Regions from separate parts of the Homo sapiens genome. Here region 1 is linked to region 2. Evidence: promoter capture Hi-C in 16 types of primary human blood cells and fetal thymus (Javierre and others, 2016). All regions are on one chromosome and are shown on one strand. The core of a region is centred on a gene start or on the middle of the fragment in contact, and the rest is flanking DNA. Distances in the headings are between cores, read along the strand shown.

Evidence for each region. The method cuts DNA at HindIII sites, captures the fragments that hold promoters and counts their contacts. A CHiCAGO score of 5 or more calls a contact.
Region 1: the fragment with the promoter of KLHL6-AS1 here is called in contact with the fragment with the promoter of ALG3 in region 2 in 2 of 17 cell types (neutrophils and naive B cells); the score reaches 5.9 in neutrophils.

What each region holds. Positions count from the first base shown.
Region 1 is chr3:183,544,713-183,550,890 of GRCh38, forward strand. KLHL6-AS1 (KLHL6 antisense RNA 1) reads left to right here and starts at 4,023. Exons shown (of 2, transcript NR_046687.1): 1 at 4,023-4,251. All of the region lies in intron 1 of KLHL6 (kelch like family member 6), which reads right to left. The HindIII fragment of the contact is 1,687 bases long and covers 3,696-5,382 here.
Region 2 is chr3:184,246,435-184,252,928 of GRCh38, forward strand. ALG3 (ALG3 alpha-1,3- mannosyltransferase) reads right to left here and starts at 2,528. Exons shown (of 9, transcript NM_005787.6): 1 at 2,311-2,528. The coding sequence starts at 2,506. It overlaps EEF1AKMT4-ECE2 (EEF1AKMT4-ECE2 readthrough), which reads left to right and starts at 3,238. Exons shown (of 19, transcript NM_014693.4): 1 at 3,238-3,456. The coding sequence starts at 3,261. EEF1AKMT4 (EEF1A lysine methyltransferase 4) reads left to right here and starts at 3,238. Exons shown (of 3, transcript NM_032331.4): 1 at 3,238-3,456. The coding sequence starts at 3,261. RefSeq lists enhancers at 1,109-1,852, 1,853-2,596, 2,795-2,844, 2,925-2,984, 3,015-3,124. The HindIII fragment of the contact is 5,512 bases long and covers 117-5,628 here.

The DNA of each region.
Region 1 (6,178 bases), core at 2,773-5,272, 700 kb before region 2:
CGCCTTTCTATCTTCTGTCTCTCTCTCTGTCTCTCAAACACACACACACACACACACACACACACACACACACACACACACACACACGCACAGCTCTTTAGCCAAGGGTGGACTCCTAACCTAGGCTGGGCTGATCATTGTGCCCCACCTCCCTGGCACAGTGATTGGCCTAGGATTGGGTAACTGAATGGGGCTGAGCCAATCAGAGTCTTTCCCAGGGGTTTTTCAAGCCACAGGTAGAGAAAGTCCCTCATTTTCCCTCCAGAGCCAAGGCTAGGAGTCTCATAGCAGCCAATAGGCAAACTCCCAACCGTGTGGCAGAAGTCAGCCTGAGAAACCCAACCTGAGAGAAGCCAAGTGAGGGGTGGAGAAAGAGCACGCAGGCTGCACGAAAGGGCCTGGTTCCTCTTCTCCCTGGGCTCTGCTGCATCCCAGCCCTTCCTATGATTTGATAATGTGACCAAATACCTTTCTCTTTGCCTAAGCTGATTGACTTGATTTCCTATCCCTCGAAACCAAAAAATGCTCACCAATAAAGGAATATGAGGCAGCGCAAATGGATGTTGCGCTCATGGCAGTTTTACCAAAAACACAAAGGCTCTGCATGTGGCCAGCTCTTTTCGTGGACTGTTTGGTGCTTACCATGTTAGACCCTTGTCCTGAAAAAACATTTTCATGGAGGGACAGTTGCATATCCATGGGTTTGATGCAGGGATAAAGCTCACAACTTGAGCTATGAATGATGAAAATATTTCTCTGTTGTGTTTTAGTTGGGAGCTGCATGGAAGATTATCTAAAATTGAAGAATAGATTTTCTAATCTTGATTGGAATAATATCCACATGCTGTGGATCTCTCTATGAAGAGGCCTGTTTTCAGTTTAGACATCATGGGTAGGGGTGACAGAGATGACACTTCCTTGAAAAATCAAAGGACCTAATGGCACTTCTGCCCTGGTGCAGAACCCCTCTCCCCACTCCCAGTGCAAAAAAACAAAAGAACTGCAAGAGTCACATTGTATGCATGGCACATCTGTATGCAGGTGGTCACATGAGCGACCGGTTCAATCCATAATATTCTGAGGCATTTTGGATTTTGGAACTGTTCCTTCCCATTTTTCCTGTGATAGCCACATTTTATCATCTTTCCCTTTTCTAAAGTTGCCCAATAGCTTCCCACACAACTCTGTGAGGACTTCCTGCTCTGGCCAGGATGCTACTTAATCAGTGACTGGACCTGCAGGAGGAAGATCCAAGCGTTCGTTCACTTCACGCATTTACAGGATGTCTGCTGAGTGTCAGCCATTGCAATGGCATCGAGGAGAAGAATAAGGTGGTCACTGCCTTCACATGGCTTGCATTTTCAACCTGCTTTTAGTCCACCCATGATGGATGATGCCTTCATGCCACACATCCCTACAAGTGTATCCAGGGCTCCTCACAGTTTTGCAGGGAGCAGAGGAGTGAACGTGCTAATAATTACCTTCTTGCATATTTGGGTCTCAGGATCCATATCTCTGATGCCTATGTGACAAGGGTCACGGAATCCCCTCATAACTGTGTAGTTTTCATGATACTTTAACATCTATTCTGCATATATTGCAGGCCTAGCAAATAGTTTTGAATTGGAAGCCGTTGATATCAACAAGCCCAGTCGGAGGAAAGCCTGCTTGGGTGGAGGCAGGACAAGCAGCAGCAGCCTCCAGCTTCCAGAGACAGCCCTGACAGCAGTGCCAGTGGCTGCAGCTGTGCAGCTGTGGCCCCAGCATTGTACAGCAGCAGGGAAGTCCTCCCCACAGGAGTCCTGGGTGGCTTCGGGCTGCGGTCCTGGCCCCTGTCTAGCCTCCCTTGCACCTGTTTGTCTTCTGGGTTTGGTTCTCCAAACTTCTTTGGGGATTTTATGAGTTCCTACTATCATTTACATAAATTCCTCTTCTCGAATAAGCCAGAGTTGATTTCTGTTTCTCAGAACCAAGAAATCTGACTTATTACCACGCATAAAGTGTTGGGGCAAATAAATTAATAAATGAATCCATTTTACTATTCGCGTTTCACAACTTGCTGGGATCGGTAGACGTAAATTGTTAGCCTCGCTCTATTGTAGACATCGGCGTTGAGCCTCAGAGGAGCCAAGCAATTCCTCCAAGATTTACACAGCCAACAAGTGGCGAGTCCGGACTGAAACCCCAGTGCCATAAGTCTTTTTTTTTTTTTTTTTTGACGGAATCTCTCACTCTGTCGTCCAGGTTGGAATGCAGTGGCATGATCGCAGCTCTCTGCAACCTCCGCCGTCCGGGTTCAATCGATTCTCCGGCCTCAGCCTCCTGAGTAGCTGGGACTACAGGCACACGCCACCGTGCCTGGCTAATTTTTATATTTTTTAGTAGAGACGGTGTTTCACCATGTTGGCCAGGCTGGTCTTGAACTCTTGACCTCAGGTGATCCACCAGCTTCAGCCTCCCAAAGTGCTGGGATTACAGGAGTAAGCCACTGCACCCGACCTCAGAGTCTTTATTTATTCCACTTAGGACAACTATTTGTATACTCACTGCTGAAGTACTAATGCATTAGACTAAAGAGCGCTGGAGGTGCTATATAACATTTAAGATATGCTAATATCCAAAGAATTCTGAATGGCAAAGCACATCTGGCTCCCAGATTTTTGGGTAAGGGATTATGGGGCTTTCTGATAATGTTAACAGTTTTCATTTTGGTGTTATTTGTCTACCTTTTCTCACATGCATATCTTTCCATAGTTTACATGCAATTTTGCATCTTGCTTTGCCCCCTGTTTTCATTATAATATTTTTCCTACGGTGCTCCATGCTTTTCATAATGACTATTTATTATATTGCTACCAATTTCAACAGAGGCATAATATGAAAATCATTCTCTCACTGTGGACATTTAGGTTGCTTCCAGTATTTTGTTTTTATACGTGACGTGGTAATCTTTGCATTAAGCATTTTTTCCCAGTTTGGAATATGGACGGCCTACATTTTTTCAGGCACTTTGCTGGATTCTTTTTATTTCATTCAGTCTTCATAATATCAAGTAGATAGCATGGTGTCCATTTCATCCTTGGGGGAGCTCACTTTGATGGGAAGAGTGGTTTCCCCATGATGTCTAAACTGAAAACAGGCCTCTTCACAGAGAACAGAAATGTGGCTAACAGGTCATTTCCTATGACCCCTCAGCTCCCCAAGACTCTTTTGCTAGTGTAGGCTACATAAGCTGAAAATGAGGAGGAAATGTAAAAATCAGAGCCTCCTTGTGCTCATACACACATGCACAGGCAGGATACTGTTGGAACATTCATTCCAGTTTATGTCTGGGGGCTGAGCTGACAGACCCCCATAGCAGCAAGGACCCAGCATGCCTTAGGACATCAGTCTGGATCAAAGGGTTAAAAAAGAGACAAGGAAGCAGGGTCAGGGTGTGCAAGGTGAAAAGACAGTGCGCTCTGAAAATATATGGGACCTCACTGTGGCTAGAACCAGAAACTGGTTCTCACCATTTGGGAAGCCCAGCTCACTGCAAAATATGGCACACTCTGTAAGTGACAGTGACCTGTGAGGGCAGCCCTGCTGTGATTCCCAGGGTTGGCAGAGGGAGGGGAGTCCTAGTGATGAGGGGAGGGGTTATCAGGCTTTTCTCTGCCCTGTCTCATGACTGGCCCTTCCTTCATGCATAGAAAAGCTTCCAGGCTGAGGCTGAGTCATTAGCAATCTCCTTTGTTGATGCTGCTGCCTGGAATCCTTGTCTGGATTCCTGTCTCACTCCTGTCTTGTACCGCAGTCTCTAGGTCTGGTTCCTTGAGGCTATGTTGAGAGGACTTTACCCGCCAGCTACAAAAATCAGGCATAAGGCCAGGAATGGGAAGGTTATTGTGAGCACAATCTATGCACTTGTTAATCATTATTACATATTAACCAATTACTGCATGGCAGAAAAGTGGGGCAAGAGACTACTCTTAAGCCACATGTAGATGTTGTAATCCTGAGCTTTGTCTCCATAATGGGGTAAGATGTCAGAAAAGAGTCAGAAAGCCCAGGTGATAGAATAAGTGCCAAGAACATATACACCATGGAATACTGTGCAGCCATAAAAAGGAATGAGTTCATGTCCTTTGCAGGGACATGGATGAAGCTGGAAACCATCATTCTCAGCAAACTAACACAGCAACAGAAAACCAAACACCGCATGTTCTCACTCATAAGTGGGAGTTGAACAATGAGAACACATGGACACAGGTAGGGGAACAACACAACCCGTGGCCTGTCGGCGGGTGGGGGACAAGGGGAGGGAGAGCATTAGGAAAAATACTTAATGCATTCAGGGCCTAAAACCTAGATGATGGGTTGATAGGTGCAGCAAACCACCATGGCACGTGTATACCTATGTAACAAACCCGCGCATTCTGCACATGTATCCCAGAACTTAAAGTAAAATTTAAACAAATTTTAAAAAAGAGAATAAGTGCCAAGAAAAACAAGAATGAGTTAAGGCCATGTAGGTCTGTATTAAAAATCTGGCTAACAGCAAATGTGTTGAGGATTGCTGCTGCCACAGTGGGTACACTTGAGAACTCAAGTGAAGCCAATGATTGTAACACCAGGGTCAGGCCCTATATTTTCCACTTTTAATATTTTCCAATATTGTGGATCAGAACCAATATGATAGTAAATATTTCAGCATTATATATCTATAATCCCTTATCTGTAGTTTCAAAATTCCCAAAGTGCTGATAAATGTAAAGTTTTTTGTAACTTATTTCATGGCTAAATCCAACTTGAATGGCACTCGTCAGGTCGGGACACCTGAGTCTTGCTCTGTTGCCCCGGCTGGAGTGCAGTGGCATGATCTTGGCTCACTGCAACCTCCGCCTCCCAGATTCAAGCAATTCTCCTGCTTCAGCCTCCCGAGTAGCTGGGACTACAGGCATGTGCCACCACGCCCAGCTAATTTTTTGTATTTTTAGTAGAGATGGGGTTTCACCATGTTAGTGCTTGACTCTTAAATAGGAACAGATATCCAAAGACTACCAGATATTTAAGTATAGCCTCTAAAATAAAAGACAGAGGCCAGGTGTGGTGGCTCATGCTTGTAATCCTAGCACTTTGGGAGGCCGGGTCAGGAGGATCCCTTGAGCCCAGGAGTTTGAAACTATCTGGGCAACATAGGGAGACCTTGTCTCTAGGAAATAAATAAATACATACATAAAATAGAATAAAAGAGACAAAAACAAAGAGAAAAATACAGTGAAAACAAACAGTAAAAAACAAACAAAAACAGAAGAGTGGTTTTTTAAAAAATATAAACCTCAAAGAGATTAAGTGAAAATATGACCTATACAAAACAAGAACAGGATGTTATAAAAAGGAAGCTTCATACATAAAACAAGAAAAAAGTCTTGGAAGTTAAAAACTGAGATTCTCAACAGGTTGGAAGATAAAATTGAGAAAAATCTTCCAGAAAGTAAAACAGAAAGATAAGAGGATGGACAACAGGAGAGAGAAGATGAGAAAGCTAGAGACTGTTCTAGAAGTCCACATCTACTGAATAAGTGATCCAGAAATAGTAAACAAGGAAAACAGTAACCATGTAATTACCAGGCAGTAATATGAGGAAATGTTCAGGATTAAAGGATGTGACTCTCCAGATTAAAAGGGTTCATCAAATGCATAGCATAATGGTTGGAGTAAAACACACATACACACACACACACGCACGCACACACACACCCCTCCAAGGCACATCATTGTGAAATATCAAAATGTTATTTAAAATCAAAGAAAGGCCAGGCGTGGTGGGTGGCTCACAGCTGTAATCCCAGCAATTTGGGAGGCGGAGGTGGGTGGATCACCTGAGGTCAGGAGTTCCAGACCAGCCTGGCCAACATGGTGAAACCCTATCTCTACTAAAAAAATACAAAAATTAGCCGGGCATGGTGGTACATCCTGTGGTCCCAGCTACTTGGGGGGCTGAGGTGGAAGAATTGCTTGAGCCCAGGGAGGCTGCAGTGAGCCATGATCAAGCTGCTGCACTCCAGCCTGGGCAACAGACCAAGACCCTGTCTCAAAACAAAACAAAAATATATGCGAGGCCTTAAAAATTTACTTCCTATGGGCTGGGCGCAGTGGCTCACGCCTGTAATCCCAGCACTTTGGGAGGCCAAGG
Region 2 (6,494 bases), core at 1,278-3,777:
CCTAAGAATTAATTAGGTTAAGTGACTGGCTTAAGATAATTGAGCTAGGATGGTGGAGTTGGGATTGAAGCTTGCAGGGTCCCAAGTTCTTAATTATCATGCTATCTTCTTAACAAAGCTTTCAAATTCCTTCATGATCTGGCCTCAGTTTCTGCATTCCCATCTCTTACTACTCCCTTCACTTGATTTCTACACTCTAGCTCTAAAAAAATCATTTCAGTTCCTCAAAGGAACCAGGCTGTCTTCTTTTTTTTTTTTTTTTGACAGAGTCTCACTCTGTCACCCAGACTGGAGTGCAGTGGTACGATCTCAGCTCACTGCAACCTCCGCCTCCCGGGTTCAAGTGATTCTCCTGCCTCAGTCTCCCGAGTAGCTGGGACTACAGGTGTGTGCCACCATGCTTGGCTAATTTTTTAAGTTTTGTATTTTTAGTAGAGATGGGGTTTCACCGTGTTGGCCAGGCTGGTTTGTTTGTTTGTTTTTCTTTTGAGACAGGGTCTCGCTCAGCCACCCAGGCTGGAGTGCAGTGGTGCGATCTCAGCTCACTGCAACCACCATCTCCCCGGTTCGAGCCATTTTCCCATCTCAGCCTCCCAAGTAGCTGGGATTACAGGCACTTGCCATCATGCCCAGCTAATTTTTCTATTTTAGTAGAGACAGGGTGTCAACATATTGGCCAGGCTGGTGTTGAACTCCTGACCTCAGGTGATCTGCCCGCCTCGGGCTCCCAAAGTGCTAGAATTACAGGCATAAGCCACCGTGCCCAGCCAGGCTGGTCTTTAACTCCTGCCCCCAAGTGATCCGCCCACCTCAGCCTCCCAAAGTGCTGGGATTACAGGCATGAGCCACCGTGCCCAGTCTAACTGAATTTTTTTTTTTTTTGACACGGAGCTTGCTCTGTCACCCAGGCTGGAGTACAGTGGCGCAATCTCGGCTCACTGCAACCTCCACCTCCCGGGTTCAAGCAATTCTCCTGTCTCAACCTCCCGAGTAGCTGGGATTACAGGCATATGCCACCACGCCCAGCTAATTTTTGTATTTTTAGTAGAGACAGGATTTCATCATGTTGGCCAGGCTGGTCTCAAATTCCTGACCTCAGGAGATCCACCCGCCTAGGCCTACCAAAGTGCTGGGATTACAGGCGTGTGCCGCTGCGCCCAGCCTAGCTGGAGATTTTTAATAGAGGATCCTCTGTCCACAGCACTCCTTCCCCTCACCTTTTTCTTCTTTCCTTAAATAGCTAATTCCTACCTTCCAAGGGTGGCTCTATGAAGCCTTTGCTGACTCCTCCAACCTGGTTTAAGTGACTTCCTATGCCCTTTATGGTATCCTGTGTTACTACTACCATGATTATGATGCATTATAATTGCCTGCTAACTTACTGTCCAGGCCCGAGTTAGAAATGCATCCTTTTTCTTTTTTTTTTTTTGAGACGGAGTCTTGCTCTGTCGCCCAGGCTGGAGTGCAGTGGCGTGATCTCGGCTCACTGAAAGCTCTGCCTCCCGGGTTCACGCCATTCTCCTGCCTCAGCCTCCCGAGTAGCTGGGACTACAGGCGCCCGCCACCATGCCCGGCTAAATTCTTTTTTTTTTTTTTTTTTCAGTAGAGACGGGGTTTCACCGTGTTAGCCAGGATGGCCTCGATCTCCTGACCTCGTGATCCGCCCGCCTCGGCCTCCCAAAGTGCTGGGATTACAGGCGTGAGCCACCGCGCCCGGCAGAAATGCATCTCTTATTCACCACTGTACCTCTCTCTGGTAACCAGCATAATGCTAGGCATATAATAAGCACTAAATAAATATTTGTTGAATTAAGAGTCTTTAGCAAGAAAGCCAAGTGCCTTAAGCCTAGAGTATAGTTTCAGCCTGGAAAGGAGTAGCCAATAATGCCTAATGGACTCAAGTGGTCACAAGATGCCATCATTGAGAAGGGACGTTCAAAGATCACAGAACTGAACACATGGAAAAAGCTGAGATCCAGGAGGAGACCTGAGGTGTCCAAAGCCACAGAGAAAAGCAGCAGCAGCAGCAGTACAACAATTTTGGCTCAAATCTGACTTCTAAGCTGGTTTGCAGGCTGTAAGTTCAGTGCAGAAGGCCAATCTCTAGGGTATCCACCTCTGCCATGCGGGCAGATTAAGATCCGGTTTTCTGTAGAGCAGGCTTGGCGCTCAGGTAAGGGATATGGATGGGTTCGCAATTGACGAGTGAGTGGATACAGAGTCTGGTTTGGAGTTCCAGGTCTGAGATCCAGTTTGGGTCGCGGGTTCAGGTCTCCCTCCCTCCCCTCCCCTCCCCCTCGGCGCACTCACATGCCACCCTGTGAATGACCCAGAAGGTGATGCCCACCTCCGCCAGGCAGAGGCAGGCGGCCACCAGCAGCGTGTAGCGCGGCTCCCGCAGCAGCAGGCGCCGCTCTTGCCAGGCGCGCTGCAGCCATTGCTTGCAGAGTCCCTCTGCCTGGGCCGCGGAACCGGACCGGCCGCGTTTCCGCAGCCCAGCCGCCATCTTAACGGTGCGCCGCTTGTGTGGGCCCACCACCCCCGGAAACCCGAACCTTCGACACTTAGGTTCCGCTTCCCGTGCCTGGCGTCCCACCAGGCTAAGCGCCGATCCGAGTAGCCAGTCTTCATTTACTCCACTAAAATGTAATTTTTCTGCATTTGTCTCCTCTGATGCACTCCACGCTCCATAGGAGCAGGGACAATGTCTTACTCCTCAGTTTATACCCAGCCCTGGGTACACAGGCGCTAATTTAGAACGAATGTCCAGAAAAGCAACATTCCTGCCTACCTCCCCCACAACCGCTGAAGCCAGCATTCTCCTTCGCCTGCGCTGGGAACATCTGTGTTCATGCTGTCTCTCCAGGAGGGCAAAGCCCCTGTTCGCGCCCCTCCTGCCTGCCCTTCGAGCCTTCCGGATGCTGAGAAAAATGAACCTTTCACTAATTTTCAGATTTCCTGATAAAAGTCATTCATATTGAAAATATGAGAGGACGCAGTGATGAGCCCACGTGAGTCTGACACCTTGAGTGCGGCCCTAGGAAATGACTTGGCAGTACAGCCGGAGGATTCAGGGTCTGGACGATAGTTTTCCCAGCCGGAGGATTCTTCGAAGAGCGCTTAGTAAAGGACGGAAGTTCCACGTGTTTGTGTTGAGCAACTGCAGGTGGTGGGCGGAGACACCAGCGCCCCGCCTTCTGCATCCTGCCTTCCGTATTGGCTGAAGGGCCGGCGGCTCTGGCTGCCCGGCGGTTGAGAGCATGGCCTCTCCAGGGGCAGGTAGGGCGCCTCCGGAGTTACCGGAGCGGAACTGCGGGTACCGCGAAGTCGAGTACTGGGATCAGCGCTACCAAGGCGCAGCCGATTCTGCCCCCTACGATTGGTTCGGGGACTTCTCCTCCTTCCGTGCCCTCCTAGAGCCGGAGCTGCGGCCCGAGGACCGTATCCTTGTGCTAGGTGGGTAATCCCGGCGCGGCCCCGCCAGGTAGAGCTGGCAGGACCGGCGCCGCATGGGCTTGGCCTGGTCCGCTTTCCTCCCGCCTGTCTATCCCTCTTGGAGGACGCCTGCGTTGGGACGCGAGATCCAGCTCCTTCAGAGTCCCGGCTGTATTTAGTCAAGGCTAACAGGAGTAAGAGATTGTTGGTCCCGGGGCCCTCTGGAGAAAGACAGTCCCTCAGAGTTTGAGCGTTGGGGGTACCCAAGACCCTGTCCGGACCCTCGGGAGGCAGGCAGCCTTGGGGACCGGATTGCTCAGAGGACCGAGATCAAGTCCTAGCGCTAATTGACTTGTAAAACTTAGGACAAGTCATGAACCCGTTCTGAGCTTTAGATTCAGTTCTAGAAATGGTACTGCGAGTTCACATCGGAGGCGGCACGCGCAGGCACCTCGAGAATAATGCCCAGCGCTTTTCTTTTTGCCCCTGGGCACTGGGAGCCAGAGTCACCTAGAGAGAGTCCTGTCTGAAACTTGGTCCTATGCCTTAGAGAGTGAGAACAGCACCCTCTAGGGGTGGAGGGGAGATTGCCGCCCAGGGTGATACGATTCCCCAAAGGGAGACGTGCTGGAGGAAAGGTAGGGCTCTGGGGTGTTCGGCTGACCTCTTGAGGTTCTCTCCTAGTGTCAGCCTTGGAGGCGCTAGTAAAGTTTGAATGAGCAACAGATTTTCTTCCAATTGTCGTTTTTACTTTGCTCTTTGTAAAAGCCTTTGTATGTTTAAGTGAAGTCTTTAATAAATAAAAAAGGTATATGTAATATATATGTAAGGTATAAATAACAAATCTAATGTGTGTGTCTATTCCACTCAGTTTGAGAAATAGAACATTACTAGGGATAGAAAAAAAAGTATAATTTAGTGGTTAATAACTTGGCTGGGCGCGGTGGCTCACGCCATTAATCCCAGCACTTTGGGAGGCCAAGGCGGGCGGATCACCTGAGGTCGGGAGTTCGAGATCAGCCTGACCAACATGGAGAAACCCCATCTCTACTAAAAATACAAAAAATTAGTCGGGTGTGGTGGCGCATGCCTATAATCCCAACTACTTGGGAGGCTGAGGCAGGAAAATCGCTTGAACCAGGGAGGCGGAGGTTGTGGTGAGCCAAGATCATGCCATTGCACTCCAGCCTGTGCAAGAAGAGCAAAACTCTGTCTCAAAAAAAAAAAAAAAAAAAGAAAAGAACTTGGACTCTGGGCTGGCCTCATGATTCATGCTCATAATCCCAGCACTTTGGGAGGCCAAGGTGGAAGGATCACTTGATCGCAGGAGCTCAAGACCAGCCTGGGCAACATAGTGAGATCCCATCTCTACAAAAAATTTAGGCCAGAGCAGTGGCTTATGCTTGTAATCACAACACTTTGGGAGACCAAGGCGGGTGGATCATTTGAGGTCAGGAGTTCAAGACAAGCCTGGCCAACATGGTGAAACCCCGTCTCTACTAAAAATACAAAAATCAGCCAGGTGTGGTGGCACGTGCCTGTAATCCCAGGTACTTGGGAGGCTGAGGCAGGAGAATCACTTGAGCCCAGGAGGTGGAGGTTGCAGTGAGCTGAGATTGCACCACTCCACTCCAGCCTGGGTGACAGAGTAAGACCCTGTCTCAAAAAAAAAAAAAATTAAAACTTAGCTGGGCATGGTGGCCTGTGCCCATAGTCCGAGTTACTCAAGAGGCTGAGGCAGGAGGATCGTTTGAGCCAGGAGATCCAGGCTGCAGTGAGCTGTGATGGCTCCAATGGGCTCCAGCCTAGGCGACAGAATGAGACCCTGTCTCAAAACAAAGCAAAACAAAAAACAAACAAACAAAAAACCACCTTGGACTCCAGAGGCAGTGAATTATGTTGGAATCTTGGCTCGGCTTATACTGGCTGTGTAATCCTGGACAAAATACTTGAATTTCTGTGCTTCCATTTTCTCAACCTTAAAAACATAAGCATATTTATTAATTGGGCTTTAAGTTGATTAAATGAGCATGAAGGATACCTAGAACAATGCCTGGCAAAATGAAAAGTATATTCAAGGTTCTCTGTGTGGTCCTCCTAAAACCCCTTCTCCCCACAAGTAAACACTTTCTTGAATCTGTGATTTTAAACCATTGCACTTATTTATAGATTTACCTTAGATCTGTTTTCTCAAGCTTTAGTGTGTATCAAAATTACCTGGGGAACTAGACTGCACTGTGAGATTCTAATTCCAGGGATGGTCTAATGTGGGTCTCAGGAATCTGTATGTTCAACAAGCTTCACAGCAGATTCTTATGCTGGTGATTGGCAGAGTAACACTGCCTTAAAATCTGCTTGACTGGTTTTTCACCAAACTGATGCTTTAAAAAAAATCTGCTTAACTGGGAACTATCCTTTTCTGGATAGGAGGGGCAAGAAGTCTAAAAATCAAAAGGGGAATTTCTAGAATCCCCAAGATGTAAGAACAGGACCCACAACTTGGGAAATACTCTACGTTACATTCCACCTCAACAGACTTAAGTTGAGTGCCTGATAAGAGCCAGAGAATGTGCTGGGCCCTTTCTAACTTACTTAATCCTTATGACAACCCCTGAAGACAAGTCAAAAGTACTAAGAGACTTACTCCAGGTTAGGGGTCTGTAAACTTTGTTTGAAAATGGCCAAACAAGTAAATTTTTTAGGCTTTGCAGGCTACACAGTCTCTTTTACAATGACTTGGTTCCGCTATTGTAGTGGAAAAGCAGCTACAGACAATACAAAAGTGAATGATGGCCGGGCAGGGTGGCTCACGCCTGTAATCCCACCACTTTGGGAGGCCGAGGCGGGCGGGTCACCTGAGGTCAGGAGTTCGAGAGCAGCCTGGCCAGCATGGTGAAACCCCGTCTCTACTAAAAACATAAAAATCAGCCAGGTGTGGTGGCAGGCACCTGTAATCCCAGCTACTCCAGAGGCTGAGGCAAGAGAATTAATTGCTTGAACCAGGGAGGCGGAGGTTGCAGTGAGCCAAGATTTCACCACTGCACTCCAGCCTGGGTGAC